Regions from separate parts of the Homo sapiens genome. Here region 1 is linked to region 2. Evidence: promoter capture Hi-C in human tissues and cell types (Jung and others, 2019). All regions are on one chromosome and are shown on one strand. Each heading gives the region's core, a stretch centred on a gene start or on the middle of the fragment in contact. The rest is flanking DNA. Distances are from core to core; before and after follow the strand shown. Region 1 overlaps LRRK2-DT (LRRK2 divergent transcript). Region 2 holds the start of ABCD2 (ATP binding cassette subfamily D member 2).

Evidence for each region. The method cuts DNA at HindIII sites, captures the fragments that hold promoters and counts their contacts. A contact is called where the count stands out against the background at its distance.
Region 1: a fragment that was not itself captured here is called in contact with the fragment with the promoter of ABCD2 in region 2 in 1 of the 25 tissues and cell types used here (hippocampus).

The regions. Positions count from the first base shown.
Region 1 is chr12:40,185,464-40,189,701 of GRCh38, reverse strand. The region is part of intron 1 of LRRK2-DT (LRRK2 divergent transcript); the gene reads left to right. Among named protein-coding and RNA genes, the nearest start is that of LINC02471, 31 kb to the right of the region's middle. The HindIII fragment of the contact is 7,808 bases long and covers 1-4,238 here.
Region 2 is chr12:39,618,470-39,622,494 of GRCh38, reverse strand. It overlaps ABCD2 (ATP binding cassette subfamily D member 2), which reads left to right and starts at 2,692. Exons shown (of 10, transcript NM_005164.4): 1 at 2,692-3,818. The coding sequence starts at 2,880. RefSeq lists enhancers at 1,072-1,151, 2,381-2,900, 3,211-3,290. The HindIII fragment of the contact is 5,264 bases long and covers 1,117-4,025 here.

The DNA.
Region 1 (4,238 bases), core at 1,350-3,849, 570 kb before region 2:
ATTTGTACAAATATGTTACTGCTATGTGTTCCAAAATTATGGGAAACTTCTATGTTTCTGATGTGACTAAGTGTACATTATCAGTAATAATTATAATAGTGTACATTATCAGTAATAATTATAATTGTTATGTTAAATTATTGTGTGCCACAGAGGTAACAAATTTCCTTATCAATTGTGTTTTTGACTATGACTGCCATAAAACTTTTTGTCATCCATGGACAATTGTTGTCTTGTTTTGCTCCTCCTTAGAATGTGGTTTTATAATCAGCTATAGAACTCTAACAGGTGTCCTTAAAAGCAGGTTTCTGATAACTTTGGAGATTGTGACATTACAATGGAGGAAAAAACTTTCAATACTCTCATGGAGAGCTGAAATATTCATGAATATCAAGGAGAACAGGAGTAAACTGCATGAACTGAACTAATAGAAGACTAAAGTAATCTTTTTAACTTTTTGGTTAAAATATTGTTGATTCTTTATTTTGTTTTCCAGAGTCAAGAAAACTTTTAAGCTGTTTACAGCTTTTAATAATTGAGTAAGGTATACTCCTGTGAACAAAATTTGGAGCATATTTTTTTCTCTCTACCTGATTTCTCCAAAATTTGGAAACTATTTGTGAGTATTCTTAACTTATGACAATATAGTTATTTGCATAAGTGTAATAAGAATCTTTCATTTATAACAGGACATAATTCGAGAAACTGGTTATTTTACCAAGGCTTTTACTGAAATGGTGTGCTTTCCTTTAAGGAATGAAACTTGATTTATGGAGCAAATAAAAGACCCTTGGAAAAACTGGCCTCATACCTTTGTCTACATAGCCCCTGTACATGTTTTCTGACTTGTGGCAAGTAAGGATTGTCACTTTCTAACAGGAGCCAGGAGCCCTAAGTTTATCTTGGAACCTCAGGAGGAGAGGATCGTTGAACTCATAGGTATTTAATGGCACAAATCCATAGCCTGGCTCGGCTTTAGAAAGTCTTATCTGGGACTCTTTCTGTGGAACACAGTTCCATCAAATCGAATTTAAAAGCCTATGTAAGGCCAGCTACAGTGGCTTACACCTGTAATCCCAGCATTTTAGGAAGCCGAGACAGGCGGATTACTTGAGGTCAGGAGTTTGAGACCAGCCTGGCCAACATAATGAAACTCTTCCTCCACCAAAAATACAAAAAGTAGCCAGGTGTGGTGGTAGGCAACTGTAATCCCAGCTACTCAGGAGGCTGAGGCATAAGAATAATTTGAACCTGGGAGGCGGAGGTTGCAGTGAGCCAGTATCACTTCTCTGCACTCCAGCCTCAGTGACAGAGTGAGACTCCATCTCAAATAAATAAATAAATAAAATAAAAGCCTATGTAAAAAAATAATTATTCTTGCTGCACTGTATACAAATAATTAGACCCAGTATAATAAAACAAACCAGTCTTACCATGATTTGTCTTTAGTAAAAATGGGAAACTGGAGACAGAAAAATTATGTTTCAAAAACTATAGTACACCTGTTGTTAGATTCTAATCTTGCCTAATGTTTTTCCATTTTTATTATTTTCTACCATTTGGACCTAATTCTAATTTTTCTTGGCTACAACTCTTCAATATAGCATTTTTCATTTTTTCCCCTGCTTCTTTCCCCCATTTTTCCTAATTTGCAGTCACTGAAAACTAAGCTGTGCTTCTGTAAAGCCCTGTGAACTGAAGCTAGACAACTTAAACTTCAGAAGAAAATAACAGCAACCTATTTACATACATAAACAACTTTCATACCTATCTACTAATGTATGGACTTTAGAGTAATGTGGCCTATATCAATTTTCCAGGATTGTTCTTTTGTTTGTTGTTGTTTTTCTCCCTTCCTCTCTGTATTTTCTCTTCATAGAATATGAGACTTCACAACCTTCTAAAAATGACCTTTCCTAATAACTCAGGACCTACCTGTCTAGGAATAAACCATCCTAGCCATGAGAGATCAGACAAAACTTGGAACCTGAGGCTCATTTTCTTCTAAAATGCTTTCTCCAAAAGATTTTTAGAAAGAAAAGGGGGGAAATGTGAAAGGAAAATATCTTGGGCCCCCAAAAGCCCTAAGCTACAGGGAAAATTCAAGCTGGGAACTGCTTAGGGTCAACCTGCTTCCCATTCTATTCAAAGTCATCCTTCTGCTCACTGAGATAAATGCATATCTGATTGCCTCCTTTGGAAAGGCTAATCAGAAACTCAAAAGAATTAAACCATTTGTCTCTCACCAACCTGTGCCCTGAAGCCTGTCCCCTCTTTGAGTTGTCCCACCTTTGCTTCAAGTTGTCCCACCTTTGCTTCAAGTTGTCCCACCTTTCTGGACCAAATTAATGTTCATTTTACATATGTTGATTGATGTCTCATGTCTCCCTAAAATGTACAAAACCGAGCTGTGCTCTGACCATCTTGGGCACATGTTGTCAGGACTTCCTGAGGCTGTGTCACAGGTGTGTGTCCTCAACCTTGGCAAAATAAAATTCCTAAATTAACTGAGACCTGTTTCAGATCTTTGGGGTTCACATTACTGGGCAGTAACCAAGAGATCATTCTAATCTAATACCCTTTTCTAAATTAGGAAATTGAAACCCGGGGAAGGGAGGTGACTTTCACAAGGATGCCCTGTTGATAATAGCAAAGCTGAGATTAGGCTTTTATGTCTCTATCCAACCACCTATCCCAACTCTATTTAGAGGCCTCATATGGCACTCTGGCTGATAAGTGATGATTAATATATAATCCCTTTCAGTCTTGTTCCATTCATTCTCCAGATAACAGATGAAGTAACTTATTCTAAGGTGAAAAGAGTAGTAACTGTATATGCCTTACCACATCCACAGTGTTTGGATTTCTACTGATCATTCCCGGAAAGGAAAAGTCCCAAATCAAAGAATCAAATGTCTACATCACTGCTGTCAGATGTGGGAGATAATGAGAGCCAGGGACATTTTCCTGAACTTTCTAAAATTGTACGACCTAGATACCAACGATTCTACAATATCTGATCAGAAGTGACCCATCCATATATTTTTAATGATTAGTGATGACCTCAATAGTACATCAATTATCAAGTAGAAAATTGCCAACATGTTTTATCTAGAAGCATATCAAAGGATCCTTTTGATTCTTAAAATCACCTATAAGTGATCCTTTGCCTTCTCAACATAACTATTTTTTTTAAAACACTAACATCTATGAAAAAAAAAACTTAATATCTTGCTGTAACTTGGTTTCTCAGCTGAAAATTGTATCCTTAATTAAGGCTGCCTTGAGATTTAGGCCACTAGGTCATTGAAAAGGGTAAGCTTCATAACTAAAAGTGAAGGAAGAGCCTGGATATGTGGTCAACGATGTGCCTCAAGATAAATAACCTATTTCTTATTTTTTTCTCAATTTCTGAGACTCTTCTTACTGTTGGCAAAGTCACTGTAGCCCCAGAAGCAAAAGCTGTTGTTGCTCCATCTTTCCTGGAATCAATGCTTGCCTTTAATTCCCCTTTACAGATTCACCTCTAAGAATTTTCTTTGAATGTTCCTGGGATGGATGAAATGGGGGGAGTGAAGAAGATTTGTACTACTTCTAAAGCAGAGTTTACAATTCAAGCTCTGAAGAAGAAAAAATAAATAAACTTAAGTAAATGTAAACACAAGTTGAGGCACATTCAATAATGAACTCTAACTTTGCATTTAAAGGAAGAAAGATCTGCAGATAAATGAGGTCAAAAATCCCTGGGGCTGATGGTAAAGAGAATCTTGACAGCATCTCACTTCATCAAACAGAGCTTGAGAAAATTATCCATTCCAGATAAGCTTCTTTACCTTGATGGCAGTCATATAGCCAAGCTTAATGAGCAAAATTTCAAGCAAATACACTTTTTTTCCAATAATGTAAAAATAAAACAAGAATGCCTACACTTACTATCACTCATCATATATCTAAGCACACAATGTTAGAGGTGATTCCAAGGAATCATCTCTCATCTGTCCTCCCTACTGAAATCATCCCAAAGTAGAAAAGATCCTTTACTTATTTGCTTGTTTGTTTGTTTATTATTTTTTGAGACAGGGTCTCATTCTGTCACCCAGGCTGGTGTGCAGTGGCACAAACACAGACCACTGCAGCTTTGGCCTCTCCTGGCTCAAGTGATCCTTCCACCTCAGCCTCTCGAGTAGCTGGTATTACAGGTGAGTGCCACCAGCTCCAGCTAATTTTTGTAAAGACAG
Region 2 (4,025 bases), core at 1,443-3,942:
ACCATGTTCTGCCTAACAACATCCTGCCATCACCCCCAGTTAGGTTTACTCTGGCCTTTAACCTGTCCTGTCACTGCTAACCCTTTTGTGTGTAGCTGTTAGGAGATGTGACATAAATGAAAGGCAACCTTATCTTGCATACAACAAAAGCAAGAGCTTAGGAATAAAAGATTTTGGCAATAACTTCCATGACCACTATTATCTGTACATACAGGCTTAAAAAGTCTTAATGGGATGATGGATTATGCTACTAATATGGCCAGCTATCAAAAAAACTTGCATGAGTTTGACACTCATGTGTCAGTCAGTCTGCTGAATTGAATGCAAACAAATGAAGAGATATGTGATGATTGTCAGAATTAATATGAGTACATAAGAAAGAAGTTTTAAAATTTTAAGAATATGGTTACTTATGAAAGTGAGGATAGTTCTTTGTGATAAACTCAGTAATGAAGATCATTTAATGCTGAGATGGGTTTTATATTCTAGCACAGAGGTTTGCAAACTTCTATAAAGGGCCAAATAGTACATATTTTAGTCTTTGTTGCATCCACCACTGTGGCTTGAAAGAAGCCATAGACAGAGAGTAAATGAATGGGTGTGACTGTTTTCCAATAAAACTTTATTTATAAACACAAAAATGAGAATTTTATATAATTTTCACAGGACAAAATATTCTTGTTTTGAAGTATTTTCAACCACTTTAAAAATGTAAAAATCATTCCTAGCTTAAGGGTCATATAAAATTAAGTGGCAGGCTAGATTTGGCCCACCAGTTGTAATTTGCCAACTTCTGTTCTAGCTTGATGCATATTTTCCTAAGCTTTTAATTGACTGGAAATGTGTATGTATGTTGGGGGCCAGCTGCTGGTGAACAAAACTGGCTGTAGCTACTGAGCATACTCAGTGTCACTTAGAAATCCCCAGAAGTTTCAGAATATATATCACTTTTGTAAGATTTCAGTAGATACCACAAGCAGAAGAGCAAGCAGAAAGGGAGATTTCCGAGAATTTTAATGAGATGGGGGGCGGGGACAGTGAAGAGCAAAAAAAATGGTTTTTCCATATCCAAAAATATACTCAGCCCTGACTTAAAAAATGCTCTTGGCTGGGCGTGGTGGCCCACGTCTATAATCCGAGCACTTTGGGAGGCTAAGGCAGGTGGATCACTTGAGGCCAGGAGGTTGAGACCAGCCTGGCAAACATGGCAAAACCCATCTCTACTAAAACTACAGAAATTAGCCAAGTATGGTAGGCGCACCCTCGTAATCCCAGCTACTCGGGCTGCTGAGGCACCAACCTGGGAGGCGGAGGCTGCAGTGAGCTGAGATCGTGCCACTGCACTCCAGCCTGGGTGACAGAGAGAGACTCTGTCTCATAAAAAAAAAAAAAAAAAAAAAAAAAAAAGCTTTTTACATTTTCAAAAATATGCAGAATTGTCCTTGACTGTTGAACAATTTAAATCCTCCATTATGGATGTGAAGAATTTTAAGACTCTTAGTTTTTATCAAATAACCAAATGGAAATAGGAAGTAGCCAGTAGATTATCTCTACAGCTAAACAAAACAAACAAAGCAGAAACCTGCAAAAGACAAAGCATTCTTGAAAAATGAAGTAAGGTCCTAGAGAAGCTATTTCCACCATCCAACACCAGCTGAATTCCCAAATGGTTAAACTTTCACTATAAGTGCTACCCCACTCCAAGTAAAAACTACCTAACACATGGGAGTAGTAAACATGAAACATTGCTCTCATTTATTTAATAGTCGTCACCTTGTAAATAAATATGAGTACATCAGATCTCCAGTTATGGGGCTGGAAGATTTTTAGCATAAGGACAAGTAGGATGCAGAGGAAAAAGGGAGAATGGCTAGAGGCATAGCAAATAATTATTTTCTGTAACACGGAAGACTTTTATCCTATTTATTTACAAGGGAAACCCTCGATTACAACTTGTCTATTAGGTTCTGAGACCTTTTGTGAAATCAGACCCCCAAAAAAGCCGGGGGGATCTGTGAAAAACAGATCCAAGTGTATTTGATATTTGGCATTCTCCGGTGTCCCTCCCACTTGTCACTTTCTTTTCTGATCCGTTTCAGATTCATTCCATATCCTTTTCATATTCATTTTATGTTGATCCTCTTGTCCCTCCTCCCTCATTTTCGTGGTTCCTTCTCCCTCCTCGTCTCATTAAAACTCTTGCAAATCTCCCTTTCTGCTTGCTCTTCTGTTTGCGGTAGCTGCTGAAATCTTACCGAAGTGATGTATATTCTGAAACTTCTGCGGGTTTCTAAGTGACATTGAGCATGCTCAGTAGCTAGGGCCGGTTTTGTTCGCTTGGAAATCTCCCTTTCTGCTTGCTCTTCTGTTTGCGGTATCTACTGAAATCTTACCGAAGTGATGTATATTCTGAAACTTCTGTGGGTTTCTAAGTGACACTGAGCATGCTCAGTAGCTAGAGCCGGTTTTGTTCGCCAGCAGATGGCCTGATTCGACCTCTCCAAAAATAGACATTTTAACTCTCTGAACTCCTGTTTAAGGAAGGATGTAATTCGCTTTGCTCTCTCCTCATTTTCAAGGTTCAAAGGGAAGCTGCGAGGATTCCAAGGTCCCACCGCCCTCACAGCCAATGAGGGGCCTGGGAGGGAGGAGCTTGGTGCAGCTTGAGCTTCTGAGAGAATCATTCCCGGTAGATGCAGCGGAGTCTGAGCTCTGCTGCATCTGTCACAGCAGAACAAAATTAAAAACACAACAGTGGAAGAGAAACGCTGCAGACTATGGGACGCTGTAGGACTTTCTAAAACATTTGCTGGGGATTTCTGTGAAGCATGATCTTTTAAAACGAATTCTTTTGGAAGCCGGTTTGGGTAACTGGGAAAATGACACATATGCTAAATGCAGCAGCTGATCGAGTGAAATGGACCAGATCGAGTGCTGCTAAGAGGGCTGCCTGCCTGGTGGCTGCGGCATATGCTCTGAAAACCCTCTATCCCATCATTGGCAAGCGTTTAAAGCAATCTGGCCACGGGAAGAAAAAAGCAGCAGCTTACCCTGCTGCAGAGAACACAGAAATACTGCATTGCACCGAGACCATTTGTGAAAAACCTTCGCCTGGAGTGAATGCAGATTTCTTCAAACAGCTACTAGAACTTCGGAAAATTTTGTTTCCAAAACTTGTGACCACTGAAACAGGGTGGCTCTGCCTGCACTCAGTGGCTCTAATCTCAAGAACCTTTCTTTCTATCTATGTGGCTGGTCTGGATGGAAAAATCGTGAAAAGCATTGTGGAAAAGAAGCCTCGGACTTTCATCATCAAATTAATCAAGTGGCTTATGATTGCCATCCCTGCTACCTTCGTCAACAGTGCAATAAGGTACCTGGAATGCAAATTGGCTTTGGCCTTCAGAACTCGCCTAGTAGACCACGCCTATGAAACCTATTTTACAAATCAGACTTATTATAAAGTGATCAATATGGATGGGAGGCTGGCAAACCCTGACCAATCTCTTACGGAGGATATTATGATGTTCTCCCAATCTGTGGCTCACTTGTATTCCAATCTGACCAAACCTATTTTAGATGTAATGCTGACCTCCTATACACTCATTCAAACTGCTACATCCAGAGGAGCAAGCCCAATTGGGCCCACCCTACTAGCAGGACTTGTGGTGTATGCCACTGCTAAAGTGTTAAAAGCCTGTTCTCCCAAATTTGGCAAACTGGTGGCAGAGGAAGCACATAGAAAAGGCTATTTGCGGTATGTGCACTCGAGAATTATAGCCAATGTAGAAGAAATTGCCTTTTACAGAGGACATAAGGTAAGATAGAAATTAAGGTGATGGGTGAAATGTGAAACTGTTCAAGTTGCCACTGCAGTGCCAGATACCATCTGTTGTCCTGTCGATGGACCCACTTCTTTAGTGTCTTAGATTCCTCTGACATCTAAACCTGAATTAAAATATATGCTTCATTACCCCTTTTAACTGTAACCAGTTAAAGGATTATAGGGTGCAAACTTTTCTAAA